Regions from separate parts of the Homo sapiens genome. Here region 1 is linked to region 2. Evidence: promoter capture Hi-C in 16 types of primary human blood cells and fetal thymus (Javierre and others, 2016). All regions are on one chromosome and are shown on one strand. The core of a region is centred on a gene start or on the middle of the fragment in contact, and the rest is flanking DNA. Distances in the headings are between cores, read along the strand shown. Region 1 overlaps MMP16 (matrix metallopeptidase 16). Region 2 holds the start of DCAF4L2 (DDB1 and CUL4 associated factor 4 like 2).

Region 1 (6,570 bases), core at 1,511-4,010, 450 kb before region 2:
GTGAACTTAGGCGCCACGTTCCCGGTGACTGACCCCGGAGGATGGTGAACAGGAACTACTGCTGACCCTGTCTTCGCCGCTGCCTCTCGGGGGCTGCCGAGCGCGGGGCCCCTGTCTCCTCCCCTTGCCCGGCTGTGGGTGAACCTGCAGGCTCCTTACCCACCCGGAGGACTTTTTTTTGAAAGGAAACGAGGGAGGGAGGGAGAGGGAGAGAGGGAGAAAACGAAGGGGAGCTCGTCCATCCATTGAAGCACAGTTCACTATGATCTTACTCACATTCAGCACTGGAAGACGGTTGGATTTCGTGCATCATTCGGGGGTGTTTTTCTTGCAAACCTTGCTTTGGATTTTATGTGCTACAGTCTGCGGAACGGAGCAGTATTTCAATGTGGAGGTAAGAGTGCGAGGGCTTTCTTCCTCCCCCCGCTGCCTGGGCTGCTCCCTGAAACATTTCCTTCACTCCTGGGATCCTTGTAGCTCAGAGCAGCCTGGGTCCCAGCACGTTGTTTCCCTTCCAGCTGTGGAGACCCTGGTTCAGTTTAAGGGTGTTTTAGGTGACGGATGCGTGTGAGACCCAGAATCCGTTATCCCCGGCAGCACAAAGCACGATGCTGCGCGCTCAAAGACACAATTGTAGCCGGTCCATGCTTTTCACCCAGGGAAGAGAAGTCCTACATATAGCAACCGTGTAGCTAAATAAGGCAGCTTGAGTTTATGATGGATAAACAGCTCGGGGAAGACAGAATTAATTCCCTGGCATCATGTGCTGCCTAGGTATTGTTCCTGAAATCTTTCTCCCAGTGTTTGGTGCCTAACAAAGGAGGTTAAAAATCAAAGAATCTAGAGGAGAGCGTGGGAACACTAGATGTGTTTAATAACATTACTTTGTGATAAAACACTTGAGAATCTTTTTTTTTTTCATTTAGACATAACTTAATACACTGTAACTAGATCTGGCTACACAGAGGACATGAAATCCATCTCTTTTTAAGTGTCTTCTTTCCCCCTCCCCCGCCAATTGAAAATAAACGTGGCCCAATGTAATAGTTTTGAGGTGTGTTTTTAATTTGATTTCACACTCTCGTGGCAAAACGGGGAGGTTTTAGACTGTCATTTGCTTTACTTTGATAGCTTTGGGAACAGACGGCACAAAGCAAAAGGGAACTTAAGGATAGGGACTTGTCAGACCTCTGCCAAAGTACTCTTCCTGTCATCAAGTCAGCACTGAAGCCAGTAATGTGCAATAAATCAATGAAAGCGTGTATACACCTGGGCTGTAACACAACTTTATCACATATACGGTGGGATACAAAGCCAGTAAGAGGGTCTTAGTAACATTTACTTCTTTTGATTAGATCTGATGTCCTCTGAACTCTCAAACGAATTATGAATAATTTTTTAAGGAATAATGTGATTTTTTTTCTTATATTGTTGATATTATGAAGCTTATTGTCATTTTGCTGGGAGTGTGTGTTTACACAATAGCAAGACCTGTTGCACAGTATTTGAACATGCTTCATGTAACCAATTGATACACAGAGTGTGCATAATAAATGCCATGTGTAAAGGCATATTCTGAATATAACTGTGTTTATAGAAACTGTTCTTAGGACTTCATGTAATAAGTCATGGTTAGTACAAAAAAAGTATTTGAAAAAGTAAGAGCTATTATCAAGAGTTAAAGACCTTCACAGATATTAAGTATGAATAAATTACACAAAAAAAACCCAATTTGAAAACTAAAAAGGTTTAACCCTTTGAAAAATACAACTTTATTTTTCTAGATAAAAAGAGAAAGGGGCTTGAAAGTCCAGACTTTTTTTATTGCAAATTTGAACTTTTGGAATTACGTGCCACAGATGGATTTTTGTACCTAACATTTAAATCAAGAGATAATTTAATGTTGAAATGAAGGATTAGTTCATAGGCTGGAGGAATTAAAGTGGCAAGCTGTTATTTATAATGTTATAAACAGAAGGGCCTATTGCTTCAGGTTGGTGGTGATGGTGGTGAGGTGGAGTGTGTGGGAGGTGGTAAAAGTAAGTGCAAGGTTGTGTCTTTCTGAATAAGGGAAGGGAAGGACAGCCTGGATTGATGGTTACCTGCTTTAGGAAAGTATTAGATTTGCTTTCAGAGGTTAGGATAACATGAGTTTTGATGATTATTAGATTTTTTGTGAGACTAAACATAAAAGATTGTATTTCTTTATATTGGAATCCCTCAGTAAGTTCAGATATTATTATGCAAAAAAGTTATGATTGTACTAACAAATTTTATTTAATTTTGGATTCCAATGACCCCTTCTCTTTCTTCATTAAGATGTGTGGGGAAAAATGGTTTATGGAGAAAATAGTTATTTTCCCATTTTTAGAGGATTTAAATTATTCTAGTCATATTTATTACACAGATTTAAGCCTGACAGATAAGTCATGTGCCATCTCAGACCTTTAAAATCTTGCTTAATAAAATGGGAAGTTTTTCATGGTTTAGAGCAGATTATATGCCTTAGTTTATGTTATCCTCAAATAGTATTTTTAAGCTCTTGAGCTCATTTTGGTTGGATTTATAAGCTTCTTTATGTGTAATGATACCCCCCCTTTTTTTTAGATTGTAGGAGTAGCTGCTAGTGAAATGGAAATATTGTCAAGAACACAGAATGACGGGATGTTTTCTGACATAAATTTCTGCCTGATTCACTTCTATTTGACTTTTTTTTGATAGGAAACACTAATGGGAAGAATGGTCCATCACTTCCTCTCCAGAAGAGGCACTTACATTGTGTTCCTCATTCTGGTTGCAAAACATACACACTGGGAATGTTTTATTTGATTGATTCTCAAGGATAGTCTTAAAATAAACAGTAATGATATCAGTCATGCATGAAGCTCATATGATCATAAAATTTTTTTTCAGTAAGCACAGAAAGTTTTTATAGTTGGAACAAAGCTTCAGGGGGATGCTTTTTATGCTGACAACTAAGATTACATTGCTTTATTCATCACTAAACTTAACAATTTGTGGTCCCCCCATTCTTTTTTATCTCTGTGATTTAAGGTTTAAGACTGTATATTTTTCCCAGGGAAGTGGGGGATTTGAAGAGGGTGGTTGGCTAGAGGTATTCATGTTAACTCTTTCCTGTCTGATTTTTAAGGGTATAAATATTTGGAGTTGTCAATTATCGAAGTGAGAGATATTTTTAATATGGTGATGAAATCCTGTTACAGAAAGAGAGTGCATTTGGTTTTGCTTGGTTAGCTTGTTTTTTAAGAAGCAAAAAGGAACATCTCTTACAGCTAAGAAAGGGTCAGACACTACCAGGAGTAGTACTATGGAAGAGATTCAATACACTGCTCTACTTTCATTTCAAGTGGAACACTTTTATTGTTAAGTTTTCAGTATATACTCACTTAGGTAAAGATATCCATATATCATTGGATCCCTTTTTTAAGAGTTGGTCTTTCAGTATGTGATAATTAGCACGATGCAAGGGAACATTGCTAATATTAACTAAAAGTCAAAAACTGTTGTCATTGGACAGCAGTCTGAATCAGAGGTGTTCATTGGTCAGAAGCAGCTAAATTATTAACAAATAATTATTAATGTCTACTGTCTTAAAAATCATTTTGTTCCTAAAATAGCTATCTCATATAGGGATTTTCATGATCCTGTGGCTTTTTTTTTTGGTATGCTGTGAGCATTTTTGTTATGAAATTTGAGACAGAACATAGTTCATGATAGTAATACCTCTCATATCGTCAACTCTGAATAGTTTGTCAGATATTACTTATGTGAACAGCATATTCCTTATCAATTTCTAAACAATAGCATACATTTCCAGGGAGGAAAAAATTTTCAAGCTGATTTAGTGGTAAAATAAAAACATATAAAATTCTAAATGATGCATATATCAAAGCATAAAATGATTACTCTTTTGTGACAAAAAAAGTCTTGATAAGGCAAAAATTGATTTTGTTGTTCCTGATTAAAGAAAGCAGAGATATTTTAGATTTCAAAGGGGTCTTTTATGACAAATATGAATTGAGTATAACTATTTCCTAAATTTTTCTTGCAATATATTTACTTAACTGATTTAAGATTTATTCAAACCTTTGTCAGGTTTGCCTGCATGTACCTAAAAAGTCAGAGTTTGCATTGGGTACTTTTGTATTGCATATAAATTTGGTAATAATTAATCATGAGACATTTCAGAGATAAAAATTATATTTTATAGAATTTTACATTCTTATGTTGGGACACTGTTGCTTTTCTCTTGTTCTTTGCTTGCTTAAAAAATCAAGATGCATTATTTCATTTGGACATGGAAGAATGGTGGTACCATGCCTTCTTGAGTAAAGGTTGTCTCCTGAATATAGCCTATAATTCTCCACTGTAGCAGTTTCTAACTGGTCAACAACAGGGGCTGTATGACTGATTCATCAAGATTTTTATGTACCGCAAGATTGCAGGTTTAACAAAACGTCTCAAATATGCTGGCTGTTTAGGGTGCTCATAAGGGCCCAAAGCTATGATAAGGAGAACAAGAGTCTCAATTGTTTTAAGGTTCTCTAGCTTCTCCTACATGTTCTACCTTGACTATGCCTCTCTGTTCAGAGTTGCCTGGGCCGGATCACTCAGGTCTATGGTTATTCATGAAACCATTACATGACGTGATCATAGCTCACTACAGCCTCAACCTCCTGGGCTCAAGCAATCCTCCCACCTTAGCCTCCTGAGTAGCTGGCACTACAGGCACATACCACCATACCCAGCTTTTTCTTTTTTCTTTTTTTTTTTTTAATTTTCATTGAGACAAGATCTCACTATGTTGTCCAGGCTGGTCTCAAACTCCTGAGCTCAAGTGATTCTCCCTCCTTGACCTCCCAAAGTGCTGGGATTACAGACATGAGCCACCACATCTAGCCACATGTCATTATTATTAATAGAAAATAAAGGTCGATAAGGAAGTAATTGGCACCATAGCATCTAATGACATAAACATCTATCAGGTTAGGACATATCAATTGGTATAGGAAGATTTTATTTAAACACCTTTCCATTTATTAAAAATATAATGTACTGAAAATCAACCAAGCTAACATCAGTACATTTTCTTCCCGTAGGTTTTTCTTAGACAGTTTAGTTCAAGAATGTGATTTTCACATTTTGTCATGTCATCTGTTACTATCATAGAATATCAAGTTCAGCTCACACCTTCTTTTACAACATCACGTTCGCTGAAATCTGTTCATCTTTTCTAATGCCATAGAAAATAAATAGGCCTTTATAATTCAGTAGGCCTTTTTATTTTAATTGGATCAAACCCCAAGTGCTTCCTTTTCATAATATGGGTAGGATTCAATAAGAAACTTAAGCCAGCTCTGTTATACCTCAGATTCTGAACAACAACAAAAAAGTTTTTCAAAAATTATGTATAGGGAGGGATAAGAATTGACTGAAAAAGAAATTAAAGTGTTTTCTACAATAGTAAAAAATAGTGAAAAACATATCGTGTCCATATAACATTGGGAATGGCAAGATAGCTAGCAATGTGGTGTAATTGAGCACTGGGGGAGAAGTTGAAGGAAGTGGGCTTTAACTCAGGTTCTTTTGCTAACCTGGCTTTGAACTTGGACATGTAACTTATTTGATATCTCATCTGCAACAATGAGATGTGAACTAAACTGTCACTAAGGCCATTTCCAAATTTGAAATTTTATAGTCGTAAGCCTAGAAGCTTTAGTTTATGTAGCCAAAGGGGATGGGAAATGCAATATTGACCCTGTAAATTTGGTAACTACTGAATCACAAAGGTAGATAGTTCAGATTTTTTTTCTGAAATAAATGTCATGAGGAAATACAGAATGTGTAACTTAAATCTAACATGTGTTATCATCTGTAGTTCCAAAGGATGTTCCATTTTGGAAATCATCGTAGCCTTCTGCTGAGTAGTAAATACATTGGCAGCAAATGATACGTAATTTTAAAATCTAGTTTTGGCCAAGGTAGCAAACCTTAAAAATTAATTTAAAAAATATAATTTAGTGCCATTTTGAGAAACAAATATCATCTACAAGTGGTAATTCAATCATAAAAAGGCAAGTTGGAATAAGTTCAAAATCTTAAGTTTTAACAGTTTTTGGGAGGGAGTGTCTCAAAATTTAAATCTGTCTCTCTGTATATGTATACAAATATACACATATTTTGTAGTGAAATTAAGTGCTTATACTGTATTCTCCATTTGCCCATTGTGGGAAATAATTTGGGCATGTGTTCTTTGAGGATTTTTTTGTTCTTCACCACATATTTGATTTTGAATATGAAAAATCAGATTGCATTTATTTTATAAAATATGTAGTTTATGTGAACAATAAAAAATTCCATACTAAAAGGACAGAATGCTAAGTAATGATATATGGGACATTCACATTTTCTTTTGCCTTATTTTTCTTTTACTTGGGGAAGTTATTTATAGATTTTGAGGTTCTTCATGAAACCATATTTGATTGTTGTTTCCTGTCATTTAGCACTCTGAATTGATATTTTTTGCTTGGTGTTTCACCACAACTGTTT
Region 2 (6,005 bases), core at 298-2,797:
ATAAGGATACTTTAATATCAGAGAACACAGATTTAAAAAAATTAAAGTTGGGCCAGGCGCGGTGGCTCAAGCCTGTAATCCCAGCACTTTGGGAGGCTGAGGCGGGTGTATCACCAGATCAGGAGATCGAGACCATTCTGGCTAAGATGGTGAAACCCCATCTCTACCAAAAATACAAAAAAATTAGCCGGGCATGGTGGCGGAGCCTGTAGTCCCAGCTACTTGGGAGGCTGAGGCAGGAGAATGGCCTGAACCCGGGAGGTGGAGCTTGCAGCGAGCTGAGATAGAGCCATTGCACTCCAGCCTGGGTGACGAGCGAGACTCCGTCTCAAAAAATAAAATAAAGTAAAATAAAATAAAATAAAATAAAATAAAATAAATAAAAGTTGGTCGGGCGCAGTGGCTCATGCCTGTAATCCCAGCACTTTGGGAGGCCAAGGCAGGTGGATCACAAGGTCAGGATATCAAGACCATCCTGGCTAACATGGTGAAACTCCATCCCTACTAAAAATACAAAAAATTAGCCAGGCATGGTGGCAGGCGCCTGTAGTCTCAGCTACTCAGGAGGCTGAGGCAGGAGAATGGCGTGAACCCGGGAGGCGGAGCTTGCAGTGAATCGAGATCACGCCACTGCAGTCCAGCCTGGGCGACAGAGCGCGACTCCATCTCACAAAAATAAAATAAAGTCAATCAATAAATAAAAGTTAAAAAGGAATATTTTATAATAATAATGGCAATCTTTCAACAGGAAGACAAAAACAATTATAAATTATTTATATCTAAAATGTAAACTGACCAACAAGAATTGGCAAGGATATATATACACTTTTGACAAGAGTGTAATTGGTTTGTCAATATCTACTTAAGCCATATTTTGACAAGAGTGTAATTGGTTTGTCAATATCTACTTAAGCTATATATGTCTACCTAATAACCCTCCACTTTCAAATTTTTTTTTTTTGAGACGGTGTCTCCCTTTGTCGCCCAGGCTGAAGTGCAGTGGGGCTATCTCGGCTCACTGCAACCTTCGCCTCCTGCGTTCAAGCGATTCTTCTGCTTTAGCCTCCCGAGTAGCTGGGACTACAGGCGCGCGCCACCATGCCCGGCTCATTTTTGTATTTTTAGTAGAGACAGGGTTTCACCATATTGGCCAGGCTGGTCTCGAACTCCTGACCTCGTAATACGCCCACCTCGGCCTCCCAAAGTGCTGGGCCAATTTCACTTCTTAGTAAATAAGAGAAATGTATGCATACAGCTATTATGACGTGTGTAAGAGGGGTCGGAAAAGAATCTCTAAACAGGAATAGAAATGAATAAAAGCAGCTGTCTGAGTAGGGGAAAACTCGAGAGAAGCAGCGGAACTCTTGTTTCAGATCACGCGATTCTAACGAGAGTTATGTCAGGGCACCTCAGAGCATTCGGGATTTGGGCCAAGGCGACGAAGAATCTCGTCCGGGTCGACCTCATACGCACAGGCGCAGGCGCAGCGGGAAGTTCTTCCGTGCCAAGTCGTGCTTGTAAAGAAGCGGTACTTCCTCTTACTCCCGGGACAGAACTTCCCCTCAGGAGGGAGAACATCCGCCGAACGAAATGGAGAGCAAAAGACCGCGACTGCTCGAGGAAGCAGACAAGCAGAAAAAGACAGTCAGAGTGGGACTCAATGCACCTTCCATGCTACGAAAGAACCAGCTAGGTTTCCTCAGATTCGCCAACTATTGCCGTATAGCTCGCGAGCTGCGTGTAAGCTGCATGCAGAGGAAAAAGGTCCAGATTCATAGCTGGGATCCCTCCTCTTTGGCAAGCGACCGATTTAACCGCATACTGGCGAATACCAACACTGACCAGCTCTTCACAGTGAACCAAGTCGAAGCTGGAGGCTCCAAGTACGGCATCATCACCATGCGAGGCCTGACGACCCCTGAGCTCCGGGTATACCCGCACAAAACCCTCTACGTCCCTAATCGGAAGGTGAATTCTATGTGCTGGGCCTCACTGAATCACTTGGATTCCCACCTTCTGCTGTGCTTCGTGGGACTTGCAGATACTCCAAGCTGTGCCGTGCTGCTCCCAGCGTCGCTGTTCATAGGTAGCTTCCCAGGAATGCGTCGGCCTGGCATGCTTTGCAGTTTCCAGATCCCTGATGCCTGGTCCTGTGCCTGGTCCCTGAGCATCCACGCGTATCACTCTTTCAGTACAGGCTTGTCTCAGCAGGTCCTGTTGACCAACGTGGTGACGGGACACCAGCAGTCATTTGGGACTAGCAGTGATGTCTTGGCCCAGCAGTTTGCAATCATGACTCCTTTGCTGTTTAATGGCTGTCGCTCTGGGGAGATCTTTGGCATTGATCTGCGCTGTGGAAATCAAGGCAGCGGGTGGAAGGCCATTTGCCTGTCCCATGATTCAGCAGTGACTTCTCTGCAAATCCTCCAAGATGGCCAATTCCTGGTGTCATCAGACATGACTGGAACTATCAAGCTGTGGGACTTGAGGGCCACTAAATGTGTAACACAGTACGAAGGTCATGTGAATAACTCCGCCTACCTACCCGTGCATGTGAACGAAGAAGAAGGAGTCGTGGCGGCCGTGGGCCAGGACTGCTACACGAGAATCTGGAGCCTCCGTCATGGCCACCTGCTCACAACCATACCCTCCCCATACCCCGCCTCGGAGAACGACATTCCCAGTGTGGCCTTCTCTTCTCGCCTCGGGGGCTTCCGAGGAGCACCAGGGCTGCTCATGGCTGTCCGGGAGGACCTTTATTGTTTCTCCTACGGTTAATTCTTCAGGATGCAGCCCGGAGGAACGTGGATTTGACTTAAAGAAGTAAAGAGCATCGTATTACCGTTTCTATGAGCGCATTTTAAGAGATGTTCGGTGTTTGTAGATCCCATCCATCCGGCTGCTAGGGGTAAGGTGCTGTTTTATGTGAAGATAGTTCTGTAAAGTTGTTTCAGTTAAACTGGGCTGAGAGAGCTTGAAAGTCCTTTTCATAAAAGATAACTATTTCCTTTTCTTGTTGAATACCTTAGAATAGTTATCCCCCCCTTTTTTTTTTTTTTTAACAAAAAAACACTTTTCTAAGGACTGAAGATTGGCAAAAACTAAAATAAATTAAAACTGCTTACACCAGAAGCCTTTTAGAGAAGCATGAGACTGTTTGACTAGTCCTACCTGGGTTCCGGAAATACATGCATCATCTGTACTTGAAGAGGCCAGTGGGAGAGGAGAGGAGGGGGAGGTCATTTATCTGAGTCTCTCCAGAAGTTTTTAAGGCTACATTTTGGAATCATTAAACTTGGCCTTCTCAAACTCAATAGCAGATCTCTGAGATTCTCCTTTTATTATTTTCCATAGGCAATGGGAGGAAAGGTGGATCTTTTTAAATAATAGAAGTTTTAAACAGTCCTTAACGTGCTTTTGTTGAGGCATCTTCCAGAATGTAAGGTACAGCAGCTCCGGTTTCTATTATTGTGACTTGAATGTCAGGATTCAAGGGCTCAGTGTCAAAGATAATTGGCTTTGACTTTTTGTAATCTAGGAGCAGCAGTTTGTGAGATGTTTATTCAAAGTGTTAGCCTGTTTTTCTACCAACAATAAGCTAGAAAAGACAAAAAAAACAAAAAACAAAAAAACGTGTAATAAAGTTAGTGGCTACTTCTTAATAGCCAAAGCCTGGAAATGATCTCACTTTACAATATGCTAAAATTGATAAATAATTTGTGCTGTAGTCATACAATTGGATAAAGCATAATATAAAATAAGGCACAATTGCTATATGAAACTGTGGATTAATCTCAACATGTTGATTGTAAATGTAGGTAGAAATGAGTACAAACTGATTCAGTTCTAAAGTTCCAAAGCACTAAAAACTTATCTATGGTGATTACAGTTTGAATAGTAGGTATCTCTGTGGAAGGAAGAAAGGATATTGTTTGTTTTTTTCCCTTTTATTTTTAGGATATTGTTTGGAAAGTAACACGGGGAAACTTTAGAAATGCTGTTTTCTTTTTCTTGATCCTTGATACATACATATTTTGTATGTCTATACACTTCACACTTTATATAATACCTCAAAAATAAAAATATGAAAACAGTACACTGTTGTAGGTTGGTCAGGAAAGGGAATGATTGTGGCTTGGACCTGACTATGAGAAGTAGAAATAATCAGAAAAATCAGAAATGATTGCATTGGAAGATCATTCGAAGGTAGTATTAGTAAGATTTGCTGATGAGAGTAATCTAGAAAGTGAAAGACAGCATAAAGATTGCAGCTTTTTTGTTAACTTTAGGACTGGTGGATGGTTGGTGTCATTTACTAAAATGGGGAGGATTTGAGGTGAAAAAATTTTAGGTGAAGAGAATAATGCTGAGTTTTAGGCAACTATTAAAATGTCCATTCTGTAGATTAGAGGTGATGTCAGGACATAAATGAGGTTAATGTAATATTACATATTGATAGAGGAATAGGTCAATAGAGAAGATACAAAAGAGTGGTTAGGTGCATAGATTTTTGAAATCAGTTAAATTAGTTTTTGATACTTGATGTGTGACAGGGGAAACTGTGTAAGCTGTACTTGTTATTTCTTTGTAAAATGTCTTAGATAATAAAACTAAATCATAAAGTAGATATTGGTTTAAAGGATGTATACATTGTCCCTTTTACATTGTAAGCATTCAATAAGAACTAGCTGCGGATGTAATTTTTTTTAAAAAAGTCCAAAAGCAGCTATGGGCAGTTGACAAAAGAAAATGTAATGACTACGTAACTTGCGAATCTGTTTACCCTCACTTGCAAATAAAATAAGTGCAAATAAAGCAATGATTATGTATTGTTTTCATTCATTATTCTAGTACAATTTTTGTTTATAGCAGCTTTATTTATAAATGCCAAAAACCAGAAACAAACAAGATGTTCCTCAAAAAGTGATGGATAAACAAACTAGTATACATACTTATATGATGGAATATTACTTAGTAATAAAAATAAAATAGCTATTAAGCTGCAAAAAGACATGGAGGAATCATGAGTACTTATGAAGAAGCCAATCTCAAAATGCTATATATATATATGTATAATTCCAACTATATGGCAGTCTGGAAAAGACAAAACCATAGAGATGGTTAAAAATATTAGTGGTTTCCCAGATTTCAGCAGGAAGGGAAAGAGGTCAATAGGTGCAGTGCAGGCATTTTTAGGGTAGTGAAATTATTCTGCATTATACTGTAATGATGGATGGATGACATGCAGTGTCAAAGCTCATAGAACTGTACAACACAAAGAATGAACCCTAATGTAAGTTATAGGCTTCACTTAATTATAATGATCAATATTGGTTCATCAGTTGTAACAAATGTGCTACACTAATGCAAGATGTTAATAATAGGGTAAGTTGCAGAGTAGAGAAGTGGTATATGCTCAGTTTTTATACTGTCTATACTATCTGTTCAATTTCATGTTAACACTTCCCTAAAATAGTCTATTAATTAATTATTTTTAAAAATAAGTTACTATCACAGAAACCAGAACAATGTGGAACAAGTTGTTCTTGGGTTGGATGACATGTACACTTGAAAAATCCATCAATAAGCATCACTAAGACCGACAATGTCCATGAAGAAGATAAACCTTCCCTTCAAGCTGCAAGCAGAATCAAGTTCAGGTCCTGTTAGCTAATGATGATGGTGATATAAGACTTAAAATTAAGGCATTAAGGCCTATTATTATTACTTTTTTTGAGACAGTATCTTGCTCTGTCACCCAGGCTAGAGTGCAGTGGCATGATTTCGGCTCACTGCAACCTCTGCCTCCTGGTTCAAGCGATTCTCCTGCCTCAACCTCCTGAGTAGCTGGGATTACAGGCAGGCACCACCACGCCTCGCTAATTTTTAATTTTTATTAGAGATGGGGTTTCACCATGTTGGCCAGGTTGGTCTCAAACTCTTGACCTCAGGTGATCCACCCGCCTCGACCTCCCGAAGTGCTGGCATTACAGGTGTGAGCCACC

Evidence for each region. Contacts are between HindIII fragments. The CHiCAGO score rates a contact against its expected background, and 5 or more counts as called.
Region 1: a contact is called between a fragment that was not itself captured here and the fragment with the promoter of DCAF4L2 in region 2, in 1 of 17 cell types (endothelial precursors). The highest score is 5.1, in endothelial precursors.

Annotation. Positions count from the first base shown.
Region 1 is chr8:88,320,899-88,327,468 of GRCh38, reverse strand. MMP16 (matrix metallopeptidase 16) reads left to right here. Exons shown (of 10, transcript NM_005941.5): 1 at 1-394. The coding sequence starts at 263. Among named protein-coding and RNA genes, the nearest start is that of MMP16, 3.3 kb to the left of the region's middle. The HindIII fragment of the contact is 376 bases long and covers 2,573-2,948 here.
Region 2 is chr8:87,869,557-87,875,561 of GRCh38, reverse strand. It overlaps DCAF4L2 (DDB1 and CUL4 associated factor 4 like 2), which reads left to right and starts at 1,547. Exons shown (of 1, transcript NM_152418.4): 1 at 1,547-4,815. The coding sequence starts at 1,591. The coding sequence ends at 2,778. The HindIII fragment of the contact is 8,203 bases long and covers 1-6,005 here.